Linked DNA regions of Homo sapiens: region 2 is linked to region 1. Evidence: promoter capture Hi-C in 16 types of primary human blood cells and fetal thymus (Javierre and others, 2016). All regions are on one chromosome and are shown on one strand. Each heading gives the region's core, a stretch centred on a gene start or on the middle of the fragment in contact. The rest is flanking DNA. Distances are from core to core; before and after follow the strand shown.

Region 1 (5,816 bases), core at 2,379-4,878:
CCAGGTTCACGCCATTCTCCTGCCTCAGCCTCCAGAGTAGCTGGGACTATAGGTACCCACCACCATGCCCAGATAATTTTTTGTACTTTTAGTAGAGACGGGGTTTCACCGTGTTAGCCAGGATGGTCTCGATCTCCTGACCTTGTGATCTGCCCGCCTTGGCCTCCCAAAGTGCCAGGATTACAGGCATGAGCCACTGTGCCCAGCCGACTGCAGTAGTCTTACACAGCCTTCCTGGCTTGATTTCTCCCTTGAATTTAGTATGACAGTGGCAGAATCACACCTGTAGGTGAGATAATACTAGAGTTCTGGTGATGTCCAGCCTTAAGAGAAGCAGGGGCACAAGGTGGAACTAACAGCAGCAAAAAGGAATATCTGCAATAAGAGTAACTTAGGAGGACACATGTGATATTAATAATCATGGTAATAGCAGCTGACATTTATTGAATCATAACATTCATATGGCATTAATATAAGTGTTTTGCATAGAAAATACTTCAACCCACACTCCTATGATTCTGCTACTGTTTCTATTTCCCATTGACAGATCAGGAAACAAAGGCACAGAGTGTTAAAATTACTTTCTCAAGTTTATACAACTAGCGTTAGAGAAACTGACAAAGAAAGAGGGGAAAGGCAAGGGAAAAAGTAGAGCTTCTCTGGGGGCTCTCACCAGCAGGAGTTTGTGGGCCATGTATTTACTGTCCTGTACTTCTGTAAGGTTGCCAGTCTCTGTGTCTTTTCATTCCCAATTTCAAATCATAAGAAAATGCATCTGATAGGTCCAGCTTTGGTGAATCCCTGATAAATTAATGAGTTTTGATACAGACATGGTCAATCCATATGAGGGGCACTCCCTGGAAATGCAGTATTGGTTTTAAGTAGGCAGCCACTCAAAAATGGTATCTACTGTATGACCTAATTATGTAAGAAGTTATCACAAGCCTATGCAAACATAATTGTTGCAGCTCAGCTGATACATGTTCCAACAATAAGAGTTACATTATTTAACTAAAATATACAGTGTGTAAGTTTTATTTTTGGTTTCTGTGGAGTGTGTATTTATACTGACTGAATTGGGAATGATTTATTATCTCATTTCCCTTAATATGGAACACTCCCTGAGGAAGCTCAGTTTACACTGAAATGATGTACTTCTATTCATGATAGCATACCATTTTAGCTACTCTGAAAGAGCCACCTGGCAAAAACAACTAAAAGTGCTAGATTTAAAAAAATACACTGATGAACTAGTAGGAAATTAAGGAATTTTCAGAACGAATATAAAAGGGGAAAAAGAAGGAAAATGAAAATATCCTGAGAAATAAGTGCAAGCCAAAGTAGGCTTTTGTTCAGAGACTATCTGTCAAGTTCTGGACACCTAGAGCTCTTACTTTAATAGCTGTGCAGCATGCCAGGGTCAGAAGATAAACCCAAGTATCAGTTTAAAAGGAAGAGTCTTACAGCAGACAAAAATCTGGGGCCCCAATGGACTATACTCTCCATGTAAGGGTAAATGACATATAAGCCTCATGCACAGAATAGGCCAGTAATGAAACATGTCTGTCTTGGCCTTGGAGCCCAGTAAAGAAAGAAAAAAAAATTCTCCTCTGAGAATCTGTAACAATCCATTTGGGATAGAGGCCCAAATTCAATCTATCTGTGCAATACAATAAACCTCAAGGGGACAATTTAATCTGGTCCTAGGGGTTTATGATGTCTCCAAACAAACTGACAAGCAAATTCTAATGCTCTCCATGAAAACTCAATTTCAACTCCAGCTCAAAGAATCCTTATGCTTGTAATCCCAGAAACAGGAATTCAGAGTCCAAAATCGCAACCCAACAGGAAAAAGCCACCATGAGTAAAAGTGCCCATTTCTGAAGAAATAGCACTAAAAGGCCCATAAATGTTTCAATATTAGGTTTAACAGAAACAAGATACAGACTAAATAATTTGTATAAGAAATTATAAGATGTCTTGAAAAGAGAACCGAATAGAACTTCCAAACCTGAAAAATTATGAAAATTCTAAAATAAAACATATAAAAGAAAGATTAAGATAAATAAGAGAATAAAGAGAGAAAGTCTTAATGGAAAAAATGAGAAATAAGCAATACTGAAAAGACAAACGCTGAGAATTTTCTAGAATTGTTGCAGGGCACCAATCCTGAAATTCAGGAATCCCCTCAAATCCTAAGCATAATTTTAAAATTTTAAGGAAAGAAAAGGGAATAAGGAAGGAATTCAGACTTAGATCACTACAAAACTGCAAAAAGATGTCAAAGAGATGTTAAAAGCAGCCAGAAGAAGGAAGGATGGGAAACGAAGAAAGGAGGAAAAAAAGAAGGGAGAAAAAGATCGAAAGTACTTGATTTTCGATGGAAGTAATGAAAAACTTAACTAGAAACTATAAAATTCTAATTCTTATTAGGATCGAAGTAAGGTTCCGTTGAGATTCATCATGATTCATCATTCACGACAGGAAAGTTTCCTGCTTAAGAGCAGTGAAAACCTTGAGTACAAGAGTATGTAATGGAGAAGGAAAGCAAGAAACACACACACACAGTTTCAACTGCAATTTGAAAAACAGAAAATGAACAATAAATTATGAACTAATGACAATTTCCCCAGAAAATCGAAAAGTTAAGAAGAGTGGAAAATAACAATATCTAGCATTTATTGAGTGCAAGAGTTTTTAATAAAAAACAATTTAAAAAGAAACTGAGTAGGGACGTACTAAATATATCACAGGAAAACATTTGCTGGGAGAGGTCGAAAAGTAGAAACTAAAGAACGCCGAAGACAACCAACCTCGAATATGGACTATTTACTCAACATAAAGTTACTGCTATTAACAGCCTATTAGAAATCAAGGCTGCATCCGTAATTCATGGCTGCTCACTGTGATGATGAAGATTATTATTATTATTATTTGCGGATGCAGATTGTATGTATAGATCAATTACATTAGAATGACGATTAGATGGACCGCAAACTAGAATATATAAGTGGCTACTGACACTATTTGTGCATCTTTTAATCTGGGAAATGTATATTCACTCCATAGTCTCAGTATAAACTATTTTAAAATTACACGTAAGCCAACCAGGTGTCTCTTTTATATTTTAGAGTGAATAATGAGGATAAATTCCAGTAGAGAGTTCTATTTTAAGCAATCCAAATTCCCCGAACTTTGCTGATTATTCTAGTGTTTAGAACCTTTGCTATTTGCCTGGCACTTCTTGAAACCCATAACTCACAAACGCCGGGGCATGGAATCACATCAAAGAACAGGTGAAAAGTTGTTCCTAGTTGTGTTATGCAGGTGCATACAACTCCCGCCATTCTCTGTGCAAAAATCAACAAATAAACAGAGGCACCGCATTTCGGATTCTGTTACGCACTGTTTGCAATGGCGCCCGGTATTCGTAGTTTCTGCGAGGGGAGCCGCCAGCGCGCCAACCCTCGCTGAGGAGGAAGAAAACTACATTTCCCACAGAGGCACGGGGGCGAACACCGGCCGGGCTACGTCATTGCTTGAACCAACCAATAGCAGCTCCGGGCGGCAGTGAGGCAAGCGCCTCAGGCGCCAAAGTGGTTTTTTTTTTTTTCTTTTTTTTTTTTTGCCGGAGTCGAGCGGGTGCTGCTAGCGGAGGCGCCATATTGGAGGGGACAAAACTCCGGCGACAGCGAGTGACACAAATAAACCCCTGGACCCCCTTGTTCCCTCAGCTCTAAGGGCCGCGATGTTGTACCTAGAAGACTATCTGGAAAGTGAGTGCGCGGCGCTGGCGGCGGCCGCCAGTGGGACGTGCGGGCGGGCAAGAGCGCGAGTGGACGGGCAGCGAGATGGCGGGAGGGAGGGGGCGGCGGGGGATGTTTCTTTCTCACGGTAACTGGCAGCCTCGTTGTGGGCTGCCGGCCCCCTCGACCCCCCTGACGCACGCGCGCAGTGACGTAAGCGCGTATTTCGCCGTTGGCCCCGCCCCTCTGACGGACTCTCCCTTTGACAGTGATTGAGCAGCTTCCTATGGATCTGCGGGACCGCTTCACGGAAATGCGCGAGATGGACCTGCAGGTGCAGAGTAAGTCGGCGCGTCTACTACTCCTGTTCGCTGCGCGCGTTCAGTGCCAGACTTGCTTGTCATCACTGCTAGCGCCTAGTGCTCTTTCACTGTCCTCTGGCTCACTCCGCTAGTGCATAAGGAGTTGTCAAAAAGAACTGGCAGCCCTGAATCTCGCCTTCCCCTTCCCTCCCATGCTACTTTTTTCTGGCTTTTGCAAGAGCAGGAGGCATTGGGACACGTGTATTCCTTTCTAGAATGTGGGATTGTGCAAAAAATATTTCTCTACCGTCATTGACATAGTTATCTATGTTTCAATGGACGTCAGCATAATAAATGTTGAGATGTCGTCTTGAGCCTTTTCGTATCGAACTTAGATTTCAGCATTTATACTTATTTTAAAGTTCATCCTATTCACAGTTTTTCAAGAGTGGAAAGCACAGAAGCAGAGGTTATATATAGCTCTTTAGAGACCATGGCAAATGTCAAATTTTGAAAACTTAGTTACACATTAGATACATTTTAAATTGTAACAGAATCGTCATTTTCTTGGTTAAAATGAGTGACAGAAATTAGATTTCACTGTAAAGTTTCTTATGTGCTGTACTAAAAATTTTAGCAGTTAATGAACATTTCTTTTTCTTTCAGTGATAGCTTGGTAGTCTCTAGGACTTTTTCCCCAAATTAACTTTGCTCTTTCATAGAGCAACGACTATAAATAGGTGGCTCAGGGACCACCTGCTGCAGCTAAGAACCTGTCCTTTTCACTGCTCCTGGCTTCTCTGCCCATGACCACACACCCACTTCTATACCCTTTGCTTATGAGTATATTTTTCCGGTAAGTTTCAGGTGGCACATAATAAAAAGTGGTGGCATGGAAGCCACTTTCTGTTCAGTGGATTGTGATATGAAGTATGAATTGTGTGTGTGGTTCTCCAGCTATCTCACAAATTCATTTTAATTTTAGTGTAGTTGAAATGCTGAAGATTTGCTGAAGTAGTGTTCTCTGCAGGACTGAGCACAGACATTGATGTCAGATCTGAGTTTGTTTTAGGGCTTTACTAATTTACTCATTGACTCTGACTGTATTATCACTTGTGAGGGGCTTACATTGTCTATAAAAAGAGAATCATCCAAGGATTTAAAATGTTACACATGGATTAGAATTTCTAGTATCTGATACAAAGTAGGCATTAAATAAAGGGTAACTTACTTTAAATTATTTTTATATTTTATTGTTTAAAATTTTAAATTCTCTTGTAATTTGGGCTTACATTATACATATTACAGGCTTTTTAAACGTGCATTTCTTTACAGTAACTAGAATTTTCTAAAGTTAATAGGTATTATGGATTAACAGAACTGTGTGCCAAATAAATTCAGAAATGCTTATTTAAACAAAGGAACATACTTCTAAAAAATTAACCATAGGACTTCATAGAGTCTTTAAAAGGCTATTGTGGACTGGAAATCTCCAAAAGAAGTATATTATGAAAAGATTTTTCTCAACTTACATAACAACAGAATCTTTTTTATTAATTTTTCCTTTTTTTTTTTAGCAGACATCCAATGAGATGATTAGTCTTGGCATATAATTTGGGGAAAACTTACCTAGAATTAATGTTTAAATGATTGTACCTACTACTTTCAGTTGGGATATGACATGATGAGATGTTTAATGCCATATACCAAATATTTTTATCACTTTTTCTTGTTAAAAGAAATGTGAGGATTATCTAATGGTGTTTTA
Region 2 (5,816 bases), core at 2,285-4,784, about 29 Mb before region 1:
CTTGTGAGCTCATTTACTCTGAGTTATTATATCCCTTTTAGTAGATTTTATACCCCTTTAGAAAATGTAAGAAGAATGAAAACATCTTCTTTTAAAAATGCTGGTGTGGGGCCATGCCTACTAGAAGAGGCCAGATGGTCAGATAGGTATTTCCCCAAACCCATCTTGACCTTGAGTATGTGAGGGGGTACTGTACTTCATTCCTGATACATTTTGGTTTCCATGTTGGCACTGAGCTCTTGGTTTTCTGTTTGGATGGTGGAGATTGGGGCCCTCCTATTCACAGTCCCTTTCTAAGTGAAGGGAAAGGCTGGTTTTTGCTGTTCCTTGTGATTCCAAAAACCCTGATTTGGGGCCCATGTTCAGGCTGGCTTTCACGCTGGCTCTCAGTCTGGTCAGATGCAATGTTCTTGAGAGGAGAGGACCTGACTGTTACCATAGTAGCATCCAAGAGAGGAAACAGTGTGAATTAAGTACTCAAAAGGAAGCACGATTTCCAAAAAAAAAAAAAAAAGGACTTGCAAGGAGAAAAATGTAAATCTTCCTAATGATCTAAGAAGATTAGAGGATACAGCAGCCAGGGACTGGGGAGCTGACAAGGACAGAGGATGAAGATGAGTGGGATGAGGAGGAGTTGAGAAGCCTGCTGTTGGGTGGTTATTCAGTTGGCCCTCCACAGCCATGGGTTCCACATCCACAAACTCAACCAACCACAGACCGAAAATATTCTCAAAAATAGATAAATATATGAACAATATGACAATAATAATAAACCAATACAGTATAGGAACTATTTATATAGCATTTATTTCATATTTGGTATAAGTAATCTAGAGATGATTTAAAGCACACAGGAGGGTGCGCATAGGTTATATGCAAATTCTATGCCATTTTATATAAGGGACTTGAGCATTTATGGATTGTGGATTTTGGTATCATCGGGAGTCCTGGAATCAATCCTCCATGGATACTGAGGGACAACTGTACATGTGGATATTGACCTGATCCATGGCAGTGTCTTGTAGTGGAGAGGAAGCTGGTGAGTTATGGGCCAAAGTTTTCAGTGAATGAGAGGGAGTCACTTGCAGATGAGTTGCAAGGAGAGGTATATGTTCCCAAATGGAGAGACATTCAGGAGCATGGAAATCAAGTGCCTAGATTTCCTCACACTGTAGGTGAGGAGAAACTTCCTCCTCACCTTTTTTTTTTTTTTTTTTGATGGAGTCTCTCGCTCTGTCGCCCAGGCTGCAACCTCTGCCTCCCAGGTTCAAGCAATTCTCCCGCCTCAGCCTCCCGAGTAGCTGGGATTACAGGTGCCTGCCACTACACACAGCTAATTTTTTGTAATTTTAGTAGAGATGGGGTTTCGCTATGTTGGCCAGGCTGGTCTTGAACTCCTGACCTCAGGTGATCCACCTGCCTCAGCCTCCCAAAGTGTTGGGATTACAGGCATGAGCCACTACGCCTGGCCTCTTCTCACCTCTTTGGTTCTGTAGCTGGGCATGGGAATTACACTAACATAAGACAGATTTACTGGAAAAGGCATAAAAGTTTTAATATTTTTGTACATGCACAGGAGGCTTTGTAAGAAAAATAAAGACCCATAGAAGTTACTAGGCCCGAAAGCTTATATGTCCTTTTAAACAAAAAATAATAAATTGCAGGGATGTGACAAGACAAAGGGGCTTGGGCTAAGGCTGGCAAATTGTGGGAAAGTGACGAAGAACCGTATGTAGAAAGTTAATGGAAAATATGGGTTACAAATTTTTGTAAGGTTTTGTTTGTAGATTCTTCTCAGTGGCAACTCTGCCTCTGGCAATAATATTCTCCTCTTCCTGGTACAGAAAGGGCACCTTTCACAAGGGAACTTTTATGTTCCGCTTCAAACAGAAAGAGGGTGGTCAGACAGCCTTCCCTGCATCTGTTTTTGCTCCATTGCCTCTGGCTCAGAAGAATCAGTATGCCAAAGTGGCATATTTTAGGATGGCAGGCTCTAAACACCTTCAGCATTGTTCTAAAGTGAGACAACACTCTTTACCTAGTCTCCTCAGCCACTTTTACAGTTGGCCCTAATCCCCATAACAGTCCTGGAAACTTATTTTTACTGTTAAGGAAACTGAGATTTAGAGGGGAGGTGACTGAGCCACAACCCACACCCCAGAGGGCTGTTCCAAAGCCCTCCTCGAAATTGGTGCCAAGGGCAGCAGCTATAATGACAGCCAGTCCACATAGAAGTGCCTCCGTTGATCACCAATTAACAGTAAAATCTGATAATATCTCATTCCAAGGTTGTTATAAGCACTAAATGTGGTTTTGTGACATAATAGGCGTTTGTTTCTCCCCACTGCTTCCCACCACAATATATTCATCAAGACCTTTCCAAGGATACTAAGTCTAGGAAACCCAGGATCATGAAGAGAGGGCATGTTCTTCCAAGTGAGGCTGAGGAGAGACTTGTCTGGCGAGGCCTGTACTGACTAGTGACATTAAAAGAGGCGATCTGACTTCTCATACTGCTCTTGTCCCAGGCCTGCTGTTTGTCAACTGCTGGGTCCTCAGAGCCAAAACTGTTTTCCAACAGTTTTGAATTGAATAACAGCCAGCTATTCGATTTTCTCCGCATTCTCTAATCGGTATACTCTTCAGAGTCCACAGGATTTGCAACGATATTATCCAACGGCTGAAGAATGTGCGCTTGACATCTTAGGCTGTAAAATGTCTCAATTTCAATTTCTAATACATAGATGTCAGTGGATGGCATTTTCTGAACCCTTTGTCGATGTCCATAAACGGCATGCTCTGAATTCAACTAAACAAAAGTATAGACATGGGGGAGGTGTAGGGCGATGTCCAAAGTATAATTTTTAAGAGTGTAAAGGGTTCCTAAGTAAGATTGCCAGATTTTTTTTTTTTTTTTGAGACGGAGTCTCACTCTATCCCCCAGGCTGGAGTGCAATGGCGCGATCTTGGCTCACTGCAGCCTCCACCTCCCGCGCTCAAGAGATTCTTCTGCCGCAGCCTCCAGGGTAGCTGGGATTACCCCAGAGCCCGCCACTGAGCCCGGCTAATTTTTGTATATTTATTAGAGAAGGGGTTTCACCACGTTGGCCAGGCTGATCTCGAACTCCTGAGCTCAAGTAATCCGCCGGCCTTGGTCTCCCAAAGTGCTGGGATTGCAGGCGTGAGCCACCACGCCAGACCTGGATTGCCAGATTTAGCACATAAAAATACAGGACCCCCAGTTAAACGCCTCTCGGATAAACCATTATTGCATGGGATACACTCACGCTAAAAAAATTGTTCGTCGTTTACCTGAAAGTCACATTTAATTGGGCGTCCTGTATTTTACCCGGCAAATTCTAGGCCTGAGACCAAAAAGTTTGAGAACCCTGCCCCTAGGCGACAGCAAGCGGAACTGCAGCAAGCTCCCAGTAATTCCGGGTGCTGCACTTCCGGTCAGGCGGTCGGGCTGCGGGGCCCTGGGGCCAGCTCACCGCCGGAAGTCTCCGCGTCCCCCCCACCCCGGCCAGATCCCTTTCCCAGTCCTGCTTCCCAGTGCCTCGGGCCAGGGAATCCTGGCCTCCGCCTGCGGAGCCGGCGGAACCCGCTTCCCGCCTCCACGGGGCAGCGCCAGCGGCCTGGTCCTTTCACCGGCAGCTCCGTGCCGACGCTCTCACCGCTCTTCCTATCGCCGGGAGTGGCGGGCCGACCAGGGGGCGGCCGGGCTACCGTCCGCCATTCCCGTGTCTCTGCGCCCGCGGGGGCCGCCCGAGCCGGCCACCATGCCGCTGGGCCTGAAGCCCACCTGCAGCGTATGCAAGACCACGTCGTCCTCCATGTGGAAGAAGGGAGCGCAGGGGGAGATCCTCTGCCATCATTGCACTGGCCGGGGCGGCGCGGGCAGCGGGGGCGCAGGCTCGGGGGCGGCTGGAGGGACTGGGGGCAGCGGCGGCGGCGGCTTCGGCGCGGCGACCTTCGCCAGCACCTCCGCCACCCCTCCGCAGAGCAACGGGGGCGGGGGCGGCAAGCAGGTGAGCTCCTCCGGCCCCTCCCGCCGGCGGAGGCCGACCAGGTGCTAGGCGGGCGGGGACGGGCTGGCTGGGAGCGGGCGGGCGCGGGCTTCCCCGATCGCCGTGCTCCTGCTGGCTGGAACGCCCCTCCCCACCTCCTACTGAGATCTTTCGTTTGGCCCATTCCGAAGCACCTGTTATTGTAAGAAATTCAAAGCAATAAGAACCAAGATGTAAAGCCCTTAAGAAAATCTCAATATACACATGTCTACACAGTCGTATACAGTGTCATGCCACAAATGCAGGCGCTGGACCTCATTCCTTGTTAAAGGTTTTGTCATATCAGGTTATGAAGTAAGATTATTATGTCATTATTGTAAATGGCAGCTTAAGTATTCCGTTGCAGGGGGCGCCATAACCTACTACGTTCTCTGGCCTTAGGGAGTAAAGTTGTTAAGTGTTTTTCTCTATTGTAGACACAACAAATGAATAGTGTTTGTCTTGGTCAAGACTGACTCCTACTCCCGCCTCCTGCCCTATTACAAGCAGCTCACACCTTTTGGAGGCTCTGGAGACGCCTGTCCAGCGAGCTCCGAGATTCCGGGTGCTGAACTTCCGGTTTTACTTAGCCTAGTTGCTGTAATTACTTCTCTTGAAAAGCAAAAGGGCAATCTTAATTGTTAAATGCTCTTATAAAGTACATACTCTGGGATCCTTGTAAGATGATTGTACTGCAACCTTTATGCACTTTTTACTTCTTTCTCTTTTTGTTCTTTAATTTGTTTGTGTAACAGAGTAAGCAGGAAATTCACAGGAGGTCTGCTCGGCTCAGAAACACTAAATACAAATCTGCTCCGGCTGCTGAAAAGAAAGTCTCCACCAAAGGAAAAGGGAGAAGACATATATTTAAATTGAAAAATGTAAGATATTTGTGGACAGTGCCTTTTACTGTAATGACGTTGTGTGTATCCTGCCACTGCCTTCATTTCTCACCATTGAACTTGGACTCTGCCCTTGGTAGCCCTTCCTTAGTATTCTGGGGAATGGTCCAGATTCCCCAAAAGGGAATGAGCTCTGTTGCAGGAGGCTCACTGTTTATAAAGTTAATAATACTCTTTCCTTTTTGTTTTTTAGCTTTTATTTTTTCCCCTGGAAAATATAAAATATGGGTTTAAAAGAAACATCAACCTTGAGCCCATTTTTTGGGGTTCTCTATGGAAAGGAAGAGGAGAGATTATGGTTCTTGATATGGCCAGGTACACTAAGAAAACTTTTTTTTTTCATTCTTTAAAAATCTAAGTAAATATTAACACTAGAACTCATCATTTGCATATTTATTTGTTATTAAAGCCCCAGAAAATGTATCTTACTGACTTATGATGATGATGTATTTGATGAATATGAGTCAAAAATTTTGCTAAGCCTTATCTCCTCTTCTGCTCTAAGAAAAGAGATTGTTGAAAGACCTGTGCTGGAAGTAGTTGAAAGCATATTTTTATTGCAATTAAATTCTCAGTTTTTATAAACAAGGGATAATGTTCAAACACAGTGGACAGTGCATTATGGACTATTTTTTTAAGTCTCAGTATGATATTCTTTTCTTTCAGAACAGGAATGTTTCACTTACCCGTAAAGACGTTTCTGAAGTTGGCCATATTTATTTCTAAAACACAAAGGGACCCTGCAGTAGACTTATGCAGATGGCAGACTATTTTCTTTTTTTTTTTTTAATTTAATTTAATGAATTTTTTTTAATTTTACTTTAAGTTCTGGGATACATGTGCAGAATGTGCAGGTTTGTTACAT

The links. Contacts are between HindIII fragments. The CHiCAGO score rates a contact against its expected background, and 5 or more counts as called.
Region 2: a contact is called between the fragment with the promoter of GATAD1 here and the fragment with the promoter of ING3 in region 1, in 3 of 17 cell types (total B cells, non-activated CD4 T cells and naive CD8 T cells). The highest score is 6.6, in total B cells.

What each region holds. Positions count from the first base shown.
Region 1 is chr7:120,947,149-120,952,964 of GRCh38, forward strand. ING3 (inhibitor of growth family member 3) reads left to right here and starts at 3,629. Exons shown (of 12, transcript NM_019071.3): 1 at 3,629-3,776; 2 at 4,016-4,087. The coding sequence starts at 3,749. RefSeq lists an enhancer at 4,172-4,251. The HindIII fragment of the contact is 9,487 bases long and covers 1-5,816 here.
Region 2 is chr7:92,443,948-92,449,763 of GRCh38, forward strand. It overlaps GATAD1 (GATA zinc finger domain containing 1), which reads left to right and starts at 3,535. Exons shown (of 5, transcript NM_021167.5): 1 at 3,535-4,031; 2 at 4,805-4,930. The coding sequence starts at 3,783. RefSeq lists a silencer at 3,455-4,224 and an enhancer at 4,655-4,704. The HindIII fragment of the contact is 4,596 bases long and covers 1,625-5,816 here.